Regions from separate parts of the Homo sapiens genome. Here region 1 is linked to region 2. The links are contacts of gene promoters, found by promoter capture Hi-C in blood cells and fetal thymus (Javierre and others, 2016). All regions are on one chromosome and are shown on one strand. The core of a region is centred on a gene start or on the middle of the fragment in contact, and the rest is flanking DNA. Distances in the headings are between cores, read along the strand shown. Region 1 has its middle 210 kb from the start of LINC01052. Region 2 holds the start of PCDH9-AS1 (PCDH9 antisense RNA 1).

Region 1 (5,654 bases), core at 2,968-5,467, 650 kb before region 2:
AAAGTGCTGGGATTACAGGCGTGAGCTACTGTGCCTGGCCTTTTTTATTTTTTTAAGTTATAGGGTTTTTATGTCATTCAGGCTGGCCTCAAACTCCTAGGGTCAAATTATCCTGCCTCAGCCTCTTGAGTAGCTGGGGTTACACATGGGTGCCACTGTACTTGGGCACTTAGGTCCTTGACTCATTTTTTTTTTGCTATTGAGTGTGTGAAGTTTTTTTATATCATAGATATTAACCCCTTATCAGATACGTGGTTTGCAAATACTTTCTCTTCATCCATATGTTGCCTTCTCATTTTACTGATTGTTTCCTTTGCTGTGCAGAAGCTTTTTAGGTTGATGTAGTCCCACTTGTTAATTTTTCTTTTTATTGCCTGAGCTTTTGTTGTGATATCCAAAGTTTCATTGCAAGGGCCAATGTCAAGGAGCTTTTCCTTTAGGTTTACTTCTAGGGGATTAATTTCAGGTCTTAAGTTTAGATCTTTAATTTACTTCTAGTTGATTTTTGTGTATAGTATAAGTTTCATTCTTCTGCTTTTGGATTTTCAGTTTTCCCATTTTGTTGGAGAAATTTTTTTCATTTTTGTTGGAGAAACTTTCCCCATTGTGTCTTCTTGGTCACCTTTTGATAATTAATTGACTGTAAGTGCTTGAATTTATCTATTCTTTAAGTGTACACTATGAGGACAAAGATAATAGACAAACCAAAAGTGACTTTCTACTAGCATTAAACTTTAAAGTGACATTAATCCATAGCTTTAGAAATAGAAGCCACCCCAAAACAAAAGATTGCATTATGAACAAAATATGCAATATTTTGTGGCATTTTGTTTTTAAAATCATGTTGCACATTCATAGAAAAACAATGAAGACCTAAAATAGATCTTTAACATATGTACAAATGAGCAAAATGGCATCTCAGTTTTTCTGCTAACTGCAAAGCACAGCAACATCACCACTGGGTCTGAAGGGTGAAGTTAAAGCCTCCGTTTCCTAAATGCTTTCTCAGTTGCTTCTAAAAAAAATTCCTTACCCTATCACATTTACATGTACATCTTTACAGCCACAATTCTGCCTCAGGCACATTCTGGTGTCAGAGGCTACCATCTGGTAGGTGGTTGTGTGTAGTAAATGAGTTTTAACAGGACCAATTGTGCTGGTTTCCTCCAGAGGGAAGAACCCCTAACTGAAAACTCAGTACAGCATTGCACTTTGCAGGAGAGTCTACCCTACCTATCTGCTATGTACTCAGTTGCCACCAGCTGTTTTATGCACTCTTAGCTCCCCAGCTGAGACAATTAAAGGAACGGGATTTGGCATTCTGTATAAATATGAGATATGACTCTGGAGCTGTTTTCACATTGGCAGAACATAGGGCAAAAAACAAGGCTTTGCTCCAGAATAGACTTTTTAATCTTATGGGCAATGATCAAGAAATGAAAAAGTCAGATGCTGAGATGATAATGAGGGGAAATATGAAAGCCTGGTTATCAGCAAAATATTGTAAATTAAATTAAGCATAGGGAAGTAGCAGCATCCTTCCCTATAAAACAGGCTAGCAGAGAAGATGCTAAATGTTTGGATGAGGACAGCAATCTGGGTATTTTGCATTGTGTGCTGCTTTTTCTGTACTCTGTATCTAGCTAAGCATGAGCCGTTGTAGCTACATATCACTTCTGCTTATGTAATCTATTGGAGTGTTGAGTCCGAAATCCTGTAAAATTAATAGCATGGGGGAAAGACATTTTTAAAATGATAAATGGGGTAAAGATGTGTTCTTTAATGGAGCTAGTGTTAGATTTTAAAATGTTACTTCCTAACTAAAGAAAAAAAATGTGGTTGGTGATGTTTTAGTTGCAATCATGTTATACAATGAAGTTTCCACCTTTATAATTTGTTTTCTGCATAGAAAATCTGTAGATAACACCAAGATACTAATTATTGTGCTCATTCATGTTGGCCTATGCTTTTTTCTTACTTAGCTTTAAATTTCCAATAATCAATATGCTATTTTTATAGGAAAATATTAAATAGAAATTAGAATTTTCTCTTTTTCATGTCACATAAAAACAGTGATTGAAAATGTTTTAAGAAGGCTTATAGGTTTGTTTCTAGAGCATAAATTGCATTAATATGTAGACAGTTCCAAAAGCTGTATTTTCTACGGGGACTTCCCGTTCAAACACTAGTCTCCTATCAATAATTACTTACTTGACGGCTCAACAAGAAAAACATCTCAAAACTGAAAAAGCCAAAACAGAAATATTGATTCTGCCATCACTTAAATTAAACCTCCACCTGTTTCTCAGTTTTGTAAAAGGCAGCGCTAGCATTAAAATGTTTAAGGAAACACTAGCAGCAACTGTCAAACCTAATTTAATTGTGCTGCCCTTGATACTTCACTTTTCTCAATCACACACTCCCAAACTTATTTAATCAGAAAATATATTTTAGTATGTTCAAACACATATGGACTCTGACCATGTCCTTACATATGTCCTATCATCCTAATAAAAGCCACCACCATCTCTCACAGGGTTTACCGTAATAAAGAAAAAAAGAAAGGAAGGAAGAAAAGAAGGAAGAAACGAAGATGAGAAGGAGGATGAGAGAAATGAAAGTCAAAACTCCTTACCCTCTTTATGAAAGCCTTATTTGATCTGGCCCCAACCATAGATCCCATCACACTTTTATCTTACCTTCCATGCTGATCCCAAATTGTAGCAGTAATTTTGAAATATGACAAACTCTTAGGAACTTAAGAGTCTGCAAAATAGGTATTCTGATTTCCTGGAATATACCTCTTCCTTTTTCTATGATTTCAAATTTCTGTTTAAATGTCATCTTTCTGCCTATGCAATCTAAAGAAATTTTAAAAATCACTATCTCAAAAGAAAATCACTACCACGTCACTTAATTCCCTACATAGTGCTTAGTGCTATCTCGCATATGACACACATACACATGCACCTGTATACATATATAATTTGTCTGTATCTCCATATTAACATATAAGCTCTTTAAGAGCACCACATCAAGTGCTTTAATTGCATTAAGTACAAATGAATCCTGGCCATGTAAAACAGTGACTGGTAAATAATATTCATTAAGTAATTACTTGTTTAATAAGCAAATGAATTGATAAGATTGAATATTAATTATTCTAATATTTTAGAATTTTATATAATTGGAGTAACCAGACTAATTCCATTAAATTTCACTTTAAGTTTCAACTCAAGCCAACCATATCTGGAAGAGATTCTTTTTTAAAGAATATTGGAAAAATGTACTCATTTAACAATATTTTACAACTTCTAGTACTGATGAATTATTTTAAACATACTTTATTGCATTCACTGAAAATAAGGTAGCCAAATTACATTCTCATAAATACAATGTATCAAAATATTTAAATATTTGCTTGAATATCCATATTATTAGCTTCTTACAACCAAAGTTGGTTTCAAAATCCCTTTTGCTTTAATATTTTCTTCTGGCTAACATTCATCAAGTGTTCTTATACATTGTACTAGCACATATTTTGCATTTATCAGAGTTCTATGTTTTTTCCTAAATAGATTTGCAGGGCTAGAAACAACTAGAGATTAAATAGCAACGTGAAGGTATTGTAGAATAAAATGAAAAGTGGCCACCCACAATCAGAATTGATAAATTTAAATTATGTCACCTAAATGCAAACTACTAGTAAATATGCTAGTGTATCACAAACAGAAATTAATTCAAATACGTTCTTCTAGAAGATACTTGGCAAACATTGGATGTGATTTTCCTATGACTACCTGTCTTCATAAACTAAGTGTAAGTTTGAATTCTCTGCTCTCTATATGGCTTAGCTTTTTCTATCAGGGCAATGCCAATGACATGTATTTCATGATATAAAGATGATGAACATTATGAGTTATTTTATATAGTGCTCTCAATCTTTATTGATATAAAAACACATTAGTTCTAAAGCTTATCCGCAACTCAGGGCAATTAAGTGGATCTTCCTACAGTTTTAAATGAAGTATTTCTGGCAATTAGCAGATAGAAAATGATTTTTTTAAGACGCAGTGACAGCAGTAGAGGACAAATCCCTTAATGCTATGAGAAAGCAACAGTGTGCATGTAGTAATTTTTTAAATGGCATTAATACTGTTAATCATTTTGACCTATCTTCATTGACCTTCATAGTTATACTATCTAAAATTGTTATCCAATTGTTAAATTTTGTTGCTGTGAATTGCTCAAAAAGTAAGCTAGATGGTGCTAGAGAACACCATTCCATTTACTATGTGATAATATTTATAACCTATTTCTTGTTGATAAGAATGACTGAAAATGTTGAGACCCATTACATTAATCTGAAATTTAGTATCACACTATAAATTTAACATAAAGGATTTATAAAGATATCAAACTCAATAAAGGTACAAGATTAAGAGGAAGTATATATTCATAAGCTTATACTAAAGTATAAGATATCACAATCCCAAAATTATAGAAAGTCTATAATAAATTTTTATGGCAAATAATTACTATTATTTTAATAAATCTACGGCACATGCATATTTTTATCCTTTTGGGATAACTTTTTTTTCTTGCAGATGTTAAAAACTGGGTGATATGGTTTAAATTGCTAAACTACAACTGAGTTATGCCAAATATCTATTTAGATCTTATCTAGAGCTCATCTTAATATTGCTATTAACATCACTTACACTCATTTCTTAAGGAAAACTAATGTTCGAATTAAAAATAACATTTTTTTAAACAAAAGGAGTCCCTTTTGGTTTAAATCAGATTTGTGTAAATAAACTAATCAATTCAAAGTTTATATGCAGAGTTATGCCTATCAAACTTTTTCCCTTACATATTTTATATATCATTTATAATGTCATTAAATTTTCTTTCATTATCTAATAAGAAAATTTCCAAAATATGGTGCAAAGAAAATTTAGAAAGATTTTTAGAGGTTGGTGTATTAGTTTACCAGGGCTGCCATACAAAATACCACAGACTGGATGCCTGAAGCAACAGATATTAATTTTTCCACTTTTCCGAAGGCTAGAAATCCAAGATCAAAGTATTGCCAGGATTGGTTTCTAGGGAGACCACACTTTTTGGCTTGTAGATATCTTCTCATTGTGTCCCTCTGTGGCCTTTTTCTCTGATGACACAGAGAGCTCTCTGGAGTCTCATCCATGTCTTATAAAGACACCCATCCTGTGGGATTAGGATCCCACTCACATGACCTCATTTAACCTCCTTAAAGGTTCTATCTCCATATGCAGTTAAATTAGCTGTTAGAGGTTCAATATATGAATTCTGGCAAGACACAGTTCAGACGAAAATGGATGCTTTTGAGTCATCCTTGAGTCCTGATGTTAGGACTGATGTTTAATCTCTTCTGATTGAGCTCTTACTTACTCAGGTTCAACTGGTCTCTACCAGTCAACACGGATTTCCAGCAAAATTTCTTCTCTGGAGGGTCATGGACTGTACACAGCTTCCTTTCTCGTGTTCTTCCTGTACTACTTTCTGATCTTAATGACAGGCCTATTAGGACCTACCCATTTTGTTAGCATGTTGCTGTCCTTGCAGAACTGAGAAAACCTGTCTCTGTGACGGTGCTCTTAATTCTTTCTTTCCAA
Region 2 (5,109 bases), core at 1,999-4,498:
GGTTAAGATAACAAAAATACGGAAAGAACTCATTTCAATATGGTGCACTGTTTAAGAATTCTAAGAAATAAAAAATGCATATGTAGAGGTAGAAATTATGCTCCGTATTTTATGTTGAAATATACATAGTGGTATAACAGAAAATTGATACCTTTGGAATACACATTAATTTATACTTTCAGTGAACTAAAATATGAATAAGATATTATTTTGATAACCATGTTTTACAAGTACATATTATACCTTATAAAATACTATAATATTAAGATACTAATTTTATGTTTTTTAAACAGTGCAAAGTCTGGCTGATATCTACTAAAATTTAGATTAGTAGCTGTGAAAGCATAAGAAAAGTGTATAGAGGATTTATTATGTGATCACTGTGCCTTTAAGAACACTGGAAGAATTTTTAAGCACTCTCTCTCAAAAGAACAAATAAAGGAGCTTCCTTTAGGGAGGGAAGATCAGCTCTATTTAAAACAAAGCAGAACAATGAAGCATTTTTAGACTCACAACACCACTCCTCCTTTTCATAGGTTGGTTTGCCCTCATGCAAAGTAACACCCTGGCATCTACATTAAAATTGAAATTGACAAGGCATCCCTTTCATCCCTTACTGCCAAAACTCCTCATTAATAATAATTAACCATCCCTGGCCTCTATCCAACAGTTTAATAAATACTGGAACAACTCTGGGCCTCAGCTGCATTTGTAGCTTTAGCCACGGAATGGGAATGATGGGATTCTGAATGAGATTCACTGAACAGCATCAGTGCAGCAAAATGACTACTCAATTGTCTGTTAATGAATACCCATTATTTAAATATATATTTATGTTAGAGTATGTGTAGAAATACTCATTCAAATAGGTCATATTCAGGTTTATAAAGTTAATTTCTGTATGTGCCTTCAAAGATTGTTAGTGTATAGCATCATAATATTTGATAATTTTTATAACAATCATCCTTTTATACATTTCATATAGGTATGCTCTCTTAGGTAATGTAAATAACTTTTATTTCCTGGTAAATGGTGACTCTTATGTCCAATGTCAACACCATAAAGCAATATAGATGATACTTAAGGAATGGTCATTGCAAATGTACTGTTTTATTTACTTGATGGGTAAATTCTTCAGTTTGGTTTGTGATGTTATTACTCTTAAAATTACCCAGAGCATATAACCAAATGTCTTCATAAGACTATATATTGTTGTATTTATTAGAAGAAATGTGGTAGGAATGGGAAAGGTGAATGCCTTTTTCAAACTTCCAGTTTATTCATGGAGAGAATATGAGATTAGTTTCTCTCTCTTTACTCTTCAAGGCAGAGGTGAATGACTTACCTGATTGGTGAAAAATAGAGAAAGGAACTGTGCAGGCATAGATTTTAATTTCTGTTTTTCAGAATGTCCTCTTTTCAGGATTCATTCCCTGTCTGTATCTTGGGGCAGTCTCTACTCCTGTGAGGGAAAAGAGGGTGGTGCTGCAGTGTACCTCAGACTAGAGGACAGGTCTAGCTTATTAGGAATGAATGGTTAGGATGTCATATCCGGACAATGGTCCAGGCAAATAACTTTAACACTATGCCTCTGACTCCCAAATCCTATTTCATAATCCTCCAAAAAGCTCTAGGGCTTGAAGAGTCAGGCTTACTTACCTAGCCCAAAACTCCAGCATGAGTGAACATTGATGCAGTTGCTCTAGGGTGAGCATACACACATGGCATATGTTTGAGTGTGTCTTCTTATCCTTGATAGCTTTCTGTGCCTATTTTCCTAAACTGAAAGAAATACAGATGAAGTTTGACTCTGGGTTTAAGGCCATAATCCCAGAATGATCTTCTGCCTTGGCCAATGAAAGTTTGTTCCATGAAATCTTATTAAAGAGACAAAGAATAAAAAAATAACCTTACTAACTAGTGCTACCAGCACAGTTTCTGACTTGGGATTTCACTGATGAAATTTGCATGAATCTTGACCAGAAAGTCAATGAACTTTCTCCATGAATTTCCCTAAAGAATAGTTTTGAAGACCATTAGGGTAATTGAACACTTATCTTGGTACTCACATTTTCAAAGGATAGGTATTAAACCCCAATGAATCTTCCTTAATTTCTAAATAAATGTTAAATTTTATCAACATATATTTACCCAACAATTAGAAGTATAAATAACCAATTTGGATGTTGACTAAGAATTAACACACTGCAATCAGGAATTCAGAACATTTATTGCAAGAGCTGAATAATTGTAAATAACGTAGAACTGGCAAAGCAGTAACAAGGATAATTGTTTAGATATTTATTCTGTCAAAGTCATCAAACACCCCTCACAAACCGACAAAAATGTACTTCAATAAGCAATGCACCCCTACCCATTATTTTCCATTATACTGTGGAAAAATGTGAACTGCTATTTACAAAGTAATTTTATTTTTTGGTAAGAACAAATTAACTATCAGATTAGCAAACCTTTTTTTTAAATTTTTTGTTTTTTTTTTGTTTTTTTTACTTTTAAATTGATGGTGAACCGTGGCATTAAGATAACTTCCACTTCTTTCAATAAAGACATTTTGTTGCATGCTATTTATTTGTTTAAATCATCTGTCATGCCTTAACAAAAACCTCCTAAGAATGTTCGAATTTGGATTTGTTTGCACGTGCAACTGAGATCTTATTAACATTAGTTGTCACTTTATTGGTTTGACCTAAGTGACAATATGCTGGTACCTGCCAGGCATTGACCAACTATGATAACAAACAGTTAAACAGCAATAATTAGAGATTTATCCCTTTATTTCCCCCAACTACCCTACCTGGAGAATGTTCTGTTACATCATGAAGGCACAACACATTAAATATTTTGTGGCTATGGTCTAATAACACTTGTGTTACAACAACATTATTGTATATGAGGATCAACACAGACTCTGCCATTTCAACAAAGTTGTAGACACACATTTGCCCAATTGAAACTATTTTTGAATAGTGATTTTTCTTCCATATATGCTAATTTTGATACATTAGTTTTACATGAGTGACAAGTACAGGATATTATATCACTTTTGATGGATAACAGTTTTCCATTACTCTCTCACTTAATGGTACTAATTAAGTGATTTTGCTTTTGCCTACTTTGAAAATAAGATGATAAAAAATAGGTTCTGAATTTCCAAGCTTTTGCAGAAGTCCTTTTTTGTATAAAGTTTTCATTTTTTCTTTCATCTTTATTGTTTACAGAATTCCGGCATCATAAGCTATCATATGAGAAGCAAGATTTCAGAACCTTTTTTAAACACAAGTGCTTGAGATTGTTTGAACAATGTGTGTCAAGACAGACTACTAACACAGAAACACCTCACTGAAAGAAACAACAAAAATAACAACAAAGAGGTAAATAAAAAGAAGGACAGAAGCAACCATAAAACACAGAATTATGCTACAACATTTTTAGGTGAACATTATAAGTACACAAAAGTTGTTAATAATAGCTTGCTTCTATTTACAAATACTTTAACACTGATTGACTTACAAGTGTCCACTAACGTTGTTAACAGCACAATAGGTTTAATGCTTATCTCTTTAAGTTTTGTTTGCAGTATAATGTCAAGTATAGCAGTCCCAGCACAAATCAATGACAAAAAAAAAAAAAAAAAAAAAAAAAAGCACAATTTTCTAACTGGATATGTTTTTCAGTCACTCTAATCCATGAAACTTTCTTACTTTCCAAATGCATATTCTATTGTTCATAGCAGCAGTCCAGGGTCAAAATAAAATGCAATAATAAAAAAAATTTGCACAATGGAGAGATCTCTGGAGAGTGTAATCAATTCTAGTAAACAAAATTGCATGGCTAGAACTATCTTCTCTCATATGTTGCAAAAACATTGTATTCTCCATGGTGCTAACACAAAGTTATAGGTATCCCTGCTAGAAGGGGCATAGTTGTAGAGATCTATTGAATACATAAAGCTCTGACGCACACGGTATTAGCATGTCTATTTAAAGTTATTAGGTCCCATATAGCCTTTTCTTAGAGTTGGTGCTCCTTAGGACTCTCAGTAGCACCTCCTGCTTGCTTATAAGACTTCAGATTTGCCAGAGGAATGTCTGTCATGTGGCTGCCATTGTTGAAATGGCCTTCATTGGAGCCATACTGCTTACGGTCATTGAACTGGTTCCTGTTGCTGTCTTCTTTCCAGGCTCTGGTCAGGGTGTGCCCATTCACAAGCTTGTCCTTCTTCACCCATTCTTTCTGGGGTGCAAAGGTTGAGAGAGGAGATTTGGGGTGTTGATATGGACCCAAGCCAGGAGGCATCCAGCAATTATCAGAGTGACCCAAAACCAAGCACTCTTGAGTGCACATCTCTGTAGCTTCAGCTAATCCTCGGGGACCCAAAGGCCCATCTGCAGAAGACAAGAGAGAGAAAATAAGAAAAGGAAGTGGTTAAAATTTTCAATTAGAATTATCTTAGAGAAAAAGTATGTTATTAGTGATCTTATTTTTTCATAAAAGTGTATCAAGTCAAGCAACTCAAAGATATATTTCTCCATCTTTTAAAGATTAACACAAAAGGCATCAAATTTGTTAGGGAGGTAAGATTGATCTATTAATATTTTCCTTCTTAATCCATTATTTAGTTATTTAGATCCAAAGACATAGATAGATAAAAAGACAGATATGGGTAAACAGGTATAACCATGATGTATACAGATATAACCATGATGCATACAGATTATTACTAATTTATATTCTAAGAAATCCCAGAAAAAAACTCATATTTATGATAAATTATAAAAAGTAGAACAATTTGTATGTGTAATATTAAAGAATATATAAATAATACAACTCCACTAAGTTAAAAAGCAAAATTACCACTTGAAACATAGCATCATTAAAAATAAATACTCTAAATGATTATATAAAATATTGTTTTTTTCTACATAAACACCTTATTTTTAAATGAAAATATTTTGTCACATTTTTGAAAAGTTAAATACTCATTTTAAAGAATAACTATTGTATCTTACTAACAACACACCTGGTCAGCTGCAAACATTCTGAAATCCAAGTAAAGAAGAAGCCATTTGAATCCAGACAGTGTTTAGT

Evidence for each region. Contacts are between HindIII fragments. The CHiCAGO score rates a contact against its expected background, and 5 or more counts as called.
Region 1: a contact is called between a fragment that was not itself captured here and the fragment with the promoter of PCDH9-AS1 in region 2, in 1 of 17 cell types (endothelial precursors). The highest score is 6.6, in endothelial precursors.

Annotation. Positions count from the first base shown.
Region 1 is chr13:65,652,666-65,658,319 of GRCh38, forward strand. No RefSeq gene overlaps it. Among named protein-coding and RNA genes, the nearest start is that of LINC01052, 210 kb to the right of the region's middle. The HindIII fragment of the contact is 488 bases long and covers 3,974-4,461 here.
Region 2 is chr13:66,300,623-66,305,731 of GRCh38, forward strand. It overlaps PCDH9-AS1 (PCDH9 antisense RNA 1), which reads left to right and starts at 3,249. Exons shown (of 2, transcript NR_046528.1): 1 at 3,249-3,392. It overlaps PCDH9 (protocadherin 9), which reads right to left. Exons shown (of 5, transcript NM_203487.3): 5 at 2,212-4,406. The coding sequence ends at 4,033. The HindIII fragment of the contact is 1,054 bases long and covers 3,175-4,228 here.